4 separate regions of the Homo sapiens genome follow, and regions 1, 2 and 3 are each linked to region 4. Evidence: promoter capture Hi-C in 16 types of primary human blood cells and fetal thymus (Javierre and others, 2016). All regions are on one chromosome and are shown on one strand. Each heading gives the region's core, a stretch centred on a gene start or on the middle of the fragment in contact. The rest is flanking DNA. Distances are from core to core; before and after follow the strand shown.

Region 1 (2,899 bases), core at 189-2,688, 710 kb after region 4:
AGATTTTAGGTATTATCTTTGAGACACAAGAAAATACATATTACTACATGGACATTAGTGCCGTGTGGTCTGATGTGTGTTCCCTTATAAGCAACTGTTAAAATATGATGAAACCACAAGACCAAATGTTTATTCTTCAATGTTCAGAAAGTAAAATGTTTCTAGTTATGAACAAGCTTAGTTTGGGAATTATTAAGCAATATAACTAAGCAATGCATTTCATCATCAATTCATCATTTTTTGTTTATATCATGTTCATGTTTATGAATCCAAAATACACATACAATAGTACAATTAAATCACGCTTCAGTTTAAAACCCCAGAGCTATCTAATCTCAGAATACAATCTAAGCTGCTCATAAGACCTTCAACAGCCTGTATGACCTGGTTCTTACCCACATTTCCAGCTTTTCTCTCTCCACTCTTTGATTGATTCACGACTCTTTCCACATTCAAACTTTCTTTTCTTCCTGTTGTCAGTGAAAGAGAATTGCATTGCCAGGACCTTTGCAGCAACTTGTTCTTCAATTTCTCTTTCTCTTAATTTTAGCAAGGTTGTCATTTTGTCAGCATTGAGATTTTGGTGCAAATATCATCTCTCAGGAAGCCTTCTTGGCTATCCTACACTACTTCACTGCCTGTCACACGACTTCGTCTTCTATTTCCATTTATTGACTACTTCCTGCTAGGCAGATGTTGCTCTCTGTTCACTGTTTGTCTTGAGCACCTGGAATACAGGTGCCTGGCATATAGTAGGCACTCAAAAATTTGGCTAAATATCATGTCGATTTTCATAATATCCTAAATATGATATAGATGTTTTTCTTGGTTTAATAATTTAAAGAAAAGGTTTTCTTTGTTTTATTTTTATTATTTTTTGTTGTTGTTGTTTAGAGATGAGCACTTGCTGTGACACCCAGGCTGGTCTCAAATTCTTGGGTTCAAGCAATCCTTCTACCTCTGCCTCTCAAGCAGCTGGGATTACAGGCATGCACCACCACAGCCAGCTCAAAGAAGTTTTGTGTTAAAAAGCCTTACACAAATTATTGTAAAATATTTATTTCAGATAATATATACAAAATTATAAAGACAAGTTACACAAGTACCAGCATTTTAGGGTATGTGTGCATGAGGGTACAGCTTTCAAAAAACCTATTACGTTCAGTGTTTCTGTACATTATGTAATTTAATGAACAGGGCAATGTGCAACGATGAGGAATGCTCAATGATAATCATTTTCTAGATGAGTTAATTGTGACTCATTAAGTTTAGCATGTTTTCAGTTTATTCAGAGAATAAATTAAAAAAGACGAAACCCAAACCCGAGACTTCTGGCTCCAGAGCCTGTGCTTTGTCTATTGAGATGTTTCTTTAACCAATGTGCTTCATATTCAGAAATGCCTGGTAGCATCATTGTCATGAAACGCATTTATTAAAACTTGTGGTACAATAACTGCTTTAGGTCACTTAAAATGAATCAACTAACCTCACAAAACACCAAGCTAATGCAATTATTGGAGATTAGAATAATATGGTGAAACGTCAGTCTTAGTCTGGAAATCTAACACAATTCAGAATAATTTATTTGTTTTTAAAGAGTCTAACATTAAGAAGGAGTGCCACCTTGTGGCATTTTTTTTATGCCGGAGTGCAACCCAGCCTTCTTTTAAAGGTTTCATAAGTGTCCTAATGAATTTGCATTTTAATCACTGTATATCTTTGAAATTTGTAAATATACAACTTATAATAACATTCTATTAAAGATAGAGAAAACATCTAAAGTCTTGGAATGGTAATTATAACCATAATTACCATTCCATTAAGAATTTCCTTTTTTTTTAAGACGGAGTTTCACTCTTGTTGCCCAGGCTGGAGTGCAATGGTGCAATCTCTGCTCACCTCATCCTCCACCTCCCAGGTTCAAGAGATTCTTTTGCCTCAGCCTCCCGACTAGCTGGGATTACAGGCATGTACCACCATGCCTGGCTAATTTTGTATATTTAGTAGAGACGAGGTTTCTCCATGTTGGTCAGGCTGGTCTGAAACTCCCGACATCAGGTGATCCGGCCGCCTCGGCCTCCCAAAGTGCTGGGATTACAAGCATCAGCCACCTTGTCCCGCCAGAATTTCCTCATATTTTAGAGCAGAAAAAAAAATCTACCATCCTGTAGTTCAGTGTGTGTTCATTAATTTTTTGGTTTAATTTATGGGAAGGTAAAGCAGAGAAGCCCTGTGATTTCTCTTTTGTTTGAAAACATTGGAATCAAAATGAATAAATTTAGGGAGAGGATTGAGATGCAGAAGATAATTGCAATTAAGACAGAGGTTTATCTCTTTTGTTCATTTGTTCTCCATCCCAGGTCAGGGAACATGGCATGACCCTCATATTGAATAGAAATAAGAATCTAATTACAAAGTGACTTTCTCATTTATTGAAGAAAGCTCAAGGATTTTTGTAAAATTCAACCAAATTAGTTATGAGAGATGCCTAGTCCAATCTCCTCTTACAGAAATGTATACTTTGACATCTACCCAGTGATATTCTTTAAAAGGTATCTTTTCTTGTGGAAGAGTTGGAATGATCTAATTATGACACTTGTCAATTATGCTTAAGTAAGACACATCAAGATGTGTGAACATCATTTCCAGGAAGAAATAATGTTGAGGAGGAAATTGGTATAGTTGAAGAATCTCTTTTTTCAAGCTTCTTTGTCTGCAAATTATTCTGCTTTGTTTGGTGGGTATCTAAAGAAAAATCCGGCCTATTTAGTGCCTCAAATTAGTATGTGATTGGATGTCATCTTTTAACCTGCTTTAAGCTGAGAGTAAAGTGGGCAGATGACACCCTGCACCTAAAATTTCTGTTCTAAGAGAGGGTGATAAAAGGGATTAGAAAGCA
Region 2 (2,995 bases), core at 139-2,638, 610 kb after region 4:
CCAGTCTTAATAGTATCTTTGTAGCAATGTGAGAAGACTAATACAGAATTTTTGCATGGTCTTCTTGAGCTATATACAGGCAATTCGAATTTTAAAAGTCAAAAGGAAGGTAAGTCTCACTCATACCCCATAGTAAAGAAATATATACGGAGGCATATGGTTTTCTGCAGGAGCATTTTGTATAAGTAGAAAAGAAATAAAATAATAGAATCTTAAAACAAAATATCATTATGTATATTATTTTAGCTCTTTCCAGAGCAGCTTGTGTTATCTTTAATTAAAGCTTAAACACTGCTGAATGGACGAATCATTTAAGAAGACCAGTTACTGCAGTTACTACTGGAATCAAGCTACATGTTCCATATTAAATCACGGAGCTGTATGGCTAGAAAGAGTCTCAGAAAACTCTGGCTCAGATTCTTGAAGTATCTTCCTTAGAACAGTAGCCCTTAATGGTGCTATTAGCTACGATTAAAAAAGAATAATCATGTATGGTCAAATAGCCTAGAAATCAATGGGTTAAATGAAGTTAAATATGTTTTTCTCTTGCAAGAATTCTCAGTGAGTTTACTCTACCAATGTGTATTTTACTTTCCACAAAAAGCACATTTAACAGCACTCCTCAGATTTCTTTAAACACACACACACACACACACACACACACTTTTTTTTTTTTTCCAAAGAACACTTTGTGAGGAATATTCATTTGAAAACTCTTTGGAAAATATTACCTTAGCCAAAATCCCTTACTTTGCAAAACTATAATTAATACTTGGTGAGTTAAATGATTTACACAGAAAAGTCAGTTGTAGTCGGCCAAAACAAAGAATGTAGCTTTTAGATGTTCAATCTAGCATGCATTGTTCTAAATCACAGTCTTCAGTATGTGCACACATATCTCTGGGAGTACATAAAAATTTTCCAGATATATGTGGGTTCAGACAGTTTTAAGGGATCTAGTTCTAGATTTTGAATTTTTATTATGAATTTCCATATCTCTGTTTCCTAAAACTAATTTGCCTAAGAACGAGTCTATGGGTTGATCATGGGTGAAGGATTACTCTCTCTTTCCCTCCAACCTCTTTCACAATAGCATTTTCCCCACTTAACAAATAATCTCTCATTCATCTGCAGTGTTACTAAGGTGCATTGCTCTCAACTATAAAACTTCTGGAGTGCTGCATAAGGCATGTTAAGGTCCTTTGAGAACAAATCAAAGAGAGGTTCAGTATGAAATGATTGAAGGTGAGACATCTTATTTTATCTAGATGAAAAACTTTTGGCAAGGCAAACATATGTATCTATCAAACATATGTAGTTATATCTATCAAACATATGTTTCTATATCAAACATATGTATCTATCAAACATATATGTATCTATATCTAGGTATATATCTAGACAGGTATATATGTGTATGACAGGTATATATATGCACCTCTAGACAAGTGTGTGTATATATATATATATAGACAGGTATATATACATATATATATATATATGTACCTCTAGACAGTATATAGGTATATATATGTACCTCTAGACAGGTGTATATGTATATGTGTGTGTGTGTATATATATGTGTGTGTGTGCATATATATGTGTGTGTATATATATATGTGTGTGTGTATATATATATATACACATATATATATATACCTCTTTCTCTCTATATATATGTATGTACCTGTCTAGAGGTGTATATATATATATATATATATATATATATATCTGTCTAGAGGTACATATATATATCTGTCTAGAGGTGTATATATATACCTGTCTAGAGGTGTATATATATACCTGTCTAGACAGATATATATATATATACCCCCATACCTGTCTACATATATACCTATATACAAGGTAGAACTTGGAAGTGAAATAATTCTAAAGGAAGCATATTAGCATGTTTATTGGATCTGACTGATTGGTTAATAATGAAAATTGGATTTGCCAGTAAATTATTTATGGACAAAGTTTTAATAAATTGAATAAGCTAAATTTTCAGATTCAATATTTTGATGAAAATAAATAAAAATATATATACAATAAAAAACTAGAAATTCTATCATTCCCAACTATTTAATCTTATGATAGAAGTATCAGCTGTAACCTTAAAAACATGAGTGAATATATATTTTTCCAAAGTTCTGTTGGGCAGTTATATAAATGACTAATTAAAGACCACTGTTCTATACTATGTACTAGAAATGTGTTCATAGAGTATTAATTTCTGAGAATATTAACAATGGAATAAGAGAAAAGCAACAACAAAATTACTACAGGAAAATGTTTTTTAAAGGGTTTTGTCATATTTTTTAAATGCAAGAAAATGAGACTGAACTTTGTATTTTTTTATTTTTTGAAAAACTCACATGTATTGTCATATTCTCTTATTAAAAGAAAGTACAAAGTCTAAGTGAAAGAAAATGATCACAGAAAACACATAAACTAAATCTTTTCTAGAGAGCATTAATATGTATTTCACAATGAAGCTTCTTATTTGGTACATTAGAAGAAATTATTTAATTTTATGGAAAAGCAGTATGTTTGGAAGAAATTTAGCTTTCATTGGTTAATCACAGAATTAGGAATAGGAATATTATACTAAAAGCTTGTTACTTCAGCTTACAAAATATTAGTTTCATTAATGCAATAGTTATCAACACACAGAGACTGCAAACACACCTAAACCTTGACAGCATTGGTCACTAGTGTGCTATTGATTGCTAATTATCAATAAAGTAACATTTATAAGTCATTATATTGACAAATACCTGCCAGCTGTCATATATATATATATATATATATATGTATATATATATATATATATATATGTATCACCTTTCTTCTTACTGTTTTAGATGAACTTTCTGTGCTCCTATATAAGGCCAATTTCTCCATGCATGTACTATATCCCTTTCTCTCTCATGTGTTGTAGAGTATCACTTCTGTATTTTTCATCCTGTTTCATCTTCATTTCACTGAGTTT
Region 3 (2,712 bases), core at 41-2,540, 730 kb after region 4:
ACTTTCTTAAGGGCTCCAGGCATAGCGTGATCATCCCCATCTGTAATCGAGGAAAGGCTTGTTGTCCTGTCTTCTGGGAAGCGACCCTCTTACTTGGGGCCATACCCTTCCTAGGATTGGCAAGAACTTGATCTCCTGTGTTCCCCACATGGTTGCCTGAGGCTGTTGCCTAATTGACATCACAGCTCTGTGTTTCCCTCTGCCCCATCTGGTGTCTTCCTGTTTCCCCACACTGATTTTGATTACATTTGCTAATAAACTTCTAATACCACAAACTTCATCTCCAAGTTGTTTTTGAGAGAACTCAACCTTGTAATGATAGTCTTATTGGAACTTGATATGCGTATTTTTCTTAAATTGATCTGCCTGAAAGTGCACCTGTGGTTGGGCGGCTATGCTTTTCTTCATTCTCACACGTCTCTCACCCATTTTGATTCTCACTATGGATCATTATTCTAGAGGGTAAGAAACTGTAGGACTTCTTGGCCAGATAACTCTGCCTGATTTCTCAGGTATTATTTATCTGGGAAACATACATAGCACAGGAGCTTAAGAGTGGTATTATCTTCTCGCCTTAATTTCCAGAGATTTTTTCTGTACTGGGAATCCTGGAACATACTATGCTAGGATATTTAAAGCCACATGGTCTGTCTTGTTTTCACTGAATTATTGTGAACACCTAGAATCTTTCTAGGTCCTGGTTTTTCTTGCTTAATCCAGTCTTTATCTCTAACTGCCCCTTATTTTATCAACATGTACTAAGGGCTCTGACAGCCAGCTCAGCTCCTGATCCTTGAGGCGACATCCTTTTTCTCTTTGAACTTCAGTTCTGTCCTTCAATCATGACTAGATGTTTCTTGCCCTCTGCTCTCAGAATTCTCTTGGCTTTTATTCCTTGATCCACTTGCGGTTTTATCACTTTACCCTTGTTACTCATGGCTTCCCGTCAAGCCATGGGTATTAGGTGACAGTGTAATTTATTAGATTCTAGTTTTGCCCAAATACTGGGACTGCTTTAAGAACAATCGAACCATTTCATTATTGGGATAGCCATGGGTACCTTATCAAGCAGATTAAAAGGATATGTTGCCTTTCCTTTAGAAGAGAAAAGCTAAAACCTGGTTGTGGATTATGGATTTAGCATAAAGAAAAACAATCGGGCATACATTAAGAGTAAAAGAGAAGATTAATGGAAATTTCACTTCACATAAGTTAAAACATGGCTGTTTCAATAAACGAAACTGAAGTTTCTCCTGGATCTCAGAATTCAACTTGTATTAATAAATGTATAATGTATTTAGCTACTATTTGGTTTAAATGAACTTGTTGGGCTAGCTTGGTAAACGTTACAATTTTTACTATTTTCTACGGAGAAAATATTTTCTAATTTGAGTTGGAGTTATCTGTGCAGCAGTTTCTCTACAGTTGTACATAGATGTTTTTACTATAAAATGAGCTAATGTGTAAAATACTACTCTATAGTGTAATAAACATAGTACTTTGAGGGGAAAAAAGAGAAACTGTAGGGCTTGAAAAAAGGGCCAATTTGAAATACAGGAGTCATCACTATAATCCTACATAACAGGGCTTTACAAAAGTCCTTTTACATAGGATTATGGTGATGACACATGTAGAGTTTTTGTAATGTCAAATGGTAAATGGTTAGAAGTAAATTAAAAAATTTAAAGTAAAAAGCAAAATTTTGTCTATCATCTGTCCCTCATCTATCAGTTCACGAAATGAGATATTTTGGCTGGGGTATGTGGTAGAGTGGAGTGGACGTCGTAGTAGCAATATTTGGTAACAATATTAATTTAATGAACCATTCTCTTCTATTGTCCACTACTGTAAAGAATGCAGGCTTCCTGAGGAAAAGTTTCATGAGAGTAAAATGGAGAATACCACCAAGAAGTAGTAAAGAGAAGAGAAGCTCCTTGTTTCTACCAGAAAGCAAGCTCATTGGAAGCTGCCATGCATTATCCACATATCTATCCTGGAACACTTAAAATTTAGTAAAGTCATGATGCGAAACACTAATCTTCTACAAAATGTACTGTGCATTTTTATTCTCATAAGGGAGCATTCAGTGAGTCTTAATCTGTATCTTAGTTGTAGACAGCATCATATCAAGAAATAGGGGGGAAATTCCCATGTTATTAACAGATTAGTGTTATTTCTTGAAATAGAAGAAACAAGTAATAGAGGTAAATCAATTTTATTCTTAAAATATATTCAATTTTTGGAAATATTTCTTTATTAATCTTTCTAATAAGTTACTGAAGACATTAAACCCACTTATTTTTTTAGGTGTATGTTTCCTGCTTGCTGTCAAACAAAAACTATTTATGTAGTCATGAACTCCTTCCATGTACTTAATAGATTTGTGTTAACCTTCAGATAATACACATTCTAATATATATACATATATATATAATCTTATTTTTTATTTTTGAGACAGAGTCTCACTCTGTTGCCTGGCTGGGGTGTAGTGGTGTGATCTCAGCTCACTGCAACCTCTGCTTCTCGGGTTCAAGTGATTCTTGTGCCTCAGCCTCCTGAGTAGCTGGGATTTACAGGCACCTGCCACCACACCCGGCTGATTTTTGTATTATTAGTAGAGATGGGGTTTCACCATGTTGACTAGGCTGGTCTTGAACTCCTGACCTCAGGTGATCCACCCACCTCAGCCTTCCACAGTGCTGGGATTATAGG
Region 4 (2,700 bases), core at 121-2,620:
ATAAAATTTATGAGACAAGAGTTGTGGCTATAAATAGGGATATGCTTTGCTCGCAAACTGCATAGAATCCCCTTCCCTTTAAAAAATATATAGAAGAGGCCAGGTGTGGTGGCTCATGCCTGTAATCCCAGCGCTTTGGGGGGCCAAAGTGGGTGGATCACCTGAGGTCAGGAGTTTGAAACCAGCCTGACCAACATGGTGAAACCCTGTCTCTACTAAAAATACAAAAAAATTAACCAGGCCTGGTGGCACGCGCCTGTAATTCCAGCTACTTGGGAGGCTGAGGAAGGAGAATCACTCGAACCTGGGAGTCAGAGATTACAGTGAGCTGAGATTGCACCACTGCACTCCAGCCTGAGGGACAGAGCAAGTCTGCCTCTCTCAAAAAAAAAAGTATATATATATATATATATATATATATGAAAATAAAATTCCATCACCTAGAGAAAATCACTAGTCACATTTTTGTATGGTTGTCCAGCATTTTCCCCTACATATATGTAAATATACTATATAATGTTAAAATATTGGGGTGAAACTGCTTTTTATTTAACACTGCATTGTATCTCCAGGTCATTAAATTGTCTTCAGGATCATGGCTCTGCATTTTTTAACATGTAGTTGCTCCCTTATTTATATAACACATTCTCTGTTGGTGAAATTTATTGTATTTTTTTGCAGTTTTTCTTTTCCTACCATGACAAATAAGCTCATCTTTTCCAGTCCTTGTTCATTCAAAGCTGGAAACAAACAACACACACACCCAAATCAGACCTGAGATTCTATGCACAAAAGTGCTTCTTGAAACAAATTATCTAATAGTATTGTAAAAAGAAAAAAAAAGAGATAAAATAAGCCAAGTGATATGTGTCACTCAGTGTTCCAGCGAAAAGCTGACTCCAAAAATTACGTGATCATAATAGCAGAATGATGAAAGAGTGACAGACAAAAGGTAAGAGCATGAGGATGAAGAGGTAATACTCAAACAGCTTTGGAAATGGAGAGGAAGCTGGCGAATGACACAAAGGACAGCTGGAGGATGAACCAGTTTCCCAAGGGGCAAAAGAAACAATGTTGTTTGACATCTTCAGCAAACATTCCAAACTGTAGGGAAGAGGGATGATGGGTTTGTGTTGGTGATAACAGCAAAGTATTAAAGCATGCCTAAAAACTTTCACCATAAAGCAACAATTATTCTTGGTAATGCTACCAGGATAACAAGTTTCTACATGTTGTCATGCTGGCAAAGAAAATAGGGTGTATTTAGAGATTAGATGCCCCATGGACATGTGGTCATGGAAACAAAAGCAAACAGCTAACGTGGCTATGTGTTGAGGTCAGTATTTGAGGGAACATCCGGTGTGTGTTTTATTCAGTATTGTGTAGTACAGAAAAGATCACACATGTATATGTCAGAAGTAGATGCACATGTTCTTTTGGCTTTTTTTCTTTGTTTTATTCTTTTTTCATTTTTTGTGTTTTTTGTTAGTTTGTTTTGAATTTTTTTTCTTGATGCATATGTTCCTTCAACTTATTCAGTACTTCCATGTGCAGGGCTCTGGACTAGACTTTCAGGATCTAAGGCTGAATCCTACACAGTCCTCCCTCTGGGAAAGTGATGAAACCTGTGAGCTCTCCTAGCAACTCTGCAGTCTTCCTTCAAGGTATGTGTTGCAATTTGGGGTTGCACATTTTAGTTGTGATATTTGTGATTAGTTGATTAATGTTTGTCATCCCACGAGACTATAAGTGCCATGAGGGTAGATATCTTATCTGTTTTGCTCCCCATTGCTTTTCTCACAGACTGCTCAGCAATGAATCTTTGTTGAATAAAATAATACTTTATACAAAGGTTAGTGATAAATGTAAGAAGCATCTAGATCAAGAACTGATACATTCTTAGGACAGAAAGATTAATCTAGACAATAGCTTTTTGTCTGGAATTATCTTTTATGGAAGAGACGGCCTTGGCAATCAGAAGAGCAGATTAAGCAATTAGTGTAATCATCTAGGTGGGAAGTAATGGGACATAAAGAACTAGAATAGAAACAATAAGAAGGGAGCAGAGTTGATAAATAAAAGCAGTACAGATACAAAATTGTCAGACGGTGGTCACCCATGGGCTATGAAGGGCAAGAAGAAGCAGAGTCTAAGAATGTGCCAGGTGACTGGGAGGACGGAGATTGTAGAAGAAAGAAAAGGGCAGCTGCTTTAGGTGCACGGAGGGCGAAGGACCTCAGGTTCGAATGTGTTGATGTCACCCTGGTGGAGATGTCAAGCAAGATGAGAGCATGGGATCTGCAGGTTTATGAGAAGACCAATTCAGAGAAACAGAATTTTGAGAAATCTACACAGCGTTTTTCCTTGCAGTTAGAAAGGTGGATGAGGTTGTCTAGGGAGATTATATAGAGAGAAAAGCAGAGGACCAAGGACAGGTGCTTGAGAAATGATGAGACTTGGCAGGACTACTTTTTTAAAAGTTCAGGAAGAAAGAGAAGAAGTGGCATTTCTCTTTTTGGTGCATAAAACCCTATAAGAGAAGAAACCATCCTATTCCCAATGCCAGGAAGTTCCCTATGTACCTTGAGAAGGTCTTCCAGGTTTCAGAGGTGTGGAAGATATCAGTTCCTTGGATAAAGGCAGCAGCTACACACTTTCTAGCAGCAAAATGGCTGAAGAACTGAAGGGTTTAGGATTTAG

What was found. Contacts are between HindIII fragments. The CHiCAGO score rates a contact against its expected background, and 5 or more counts as called.
Region 1: a fragment that was not itself captured here is called in contact with the fragment with the promoter of TRMT9B in region 4 in 10 of 17 cell types (M2 macrophages, megakaryocytes, endothelial precursors and 7 more); the score reaches 15.1 in M2 macrophages.
Region 2: a fragment that was not itself captured here is called in contact with the fragment with the promoter of TRMT9B in region 4 in 1 of 17 cell types (erythroblasts); the score reaches 5.1 in erythroblasts.
Region 3: a fragment that was not itself captured here is called in contact with the fragment with the promoter of TRMT9B in region 4 in 1 of 17 cell types (endothelial precursors); the score reaches 8.5 in endothelial precursors.

The regions. Positions count from the first base shown.
Region 1 is chr8:13,657,861-13,660,759 of GRCh38, forward strand. No RefSeq gene overlaps it. Among named protein-coding and RNA genes, the nearest start is that of C8orf48, 92 kb to the left of the region's middle. The HindIII fragment of the contact is 2,528 bases long and covers 175-2,702 here.
Region 2 is chr8:13,550,412-13,553,406 of GRCh38, forward strand. It overlaps a transcript of DLC1 not described here. Among named protein-coding and RNA genes, the nearest start is that of C8orf48, 15 kb to the right of the region's middle. The HindIII fragment of the contact is 2,215 bases long and covers 282-2,496 here.
Region 3 is chr8:13,678,464-13,681,175 of GRCh38, forward strand. No RefSeq gene overlaps it. Among named protein-coding and RNA genes, the nearest start is that of C8orf48, 110 kb to the left of the region's middle. The HindIII fragment of the contact is 9,349 bases long and covers 1-2,712 here.
Region 4 is chr8:12,944,303-12,947,002 of GRCh38, forward strand. TRMT9B (tRNA methyltransferase 9B (putative)) reads left to right here and starts at 1,371. Exons shown (of 5, transcript NM_020844.3): 1 at 1,371-1,664. The HindIII fragment of the contact is 4,153 bases long and covers 1-2,700 here.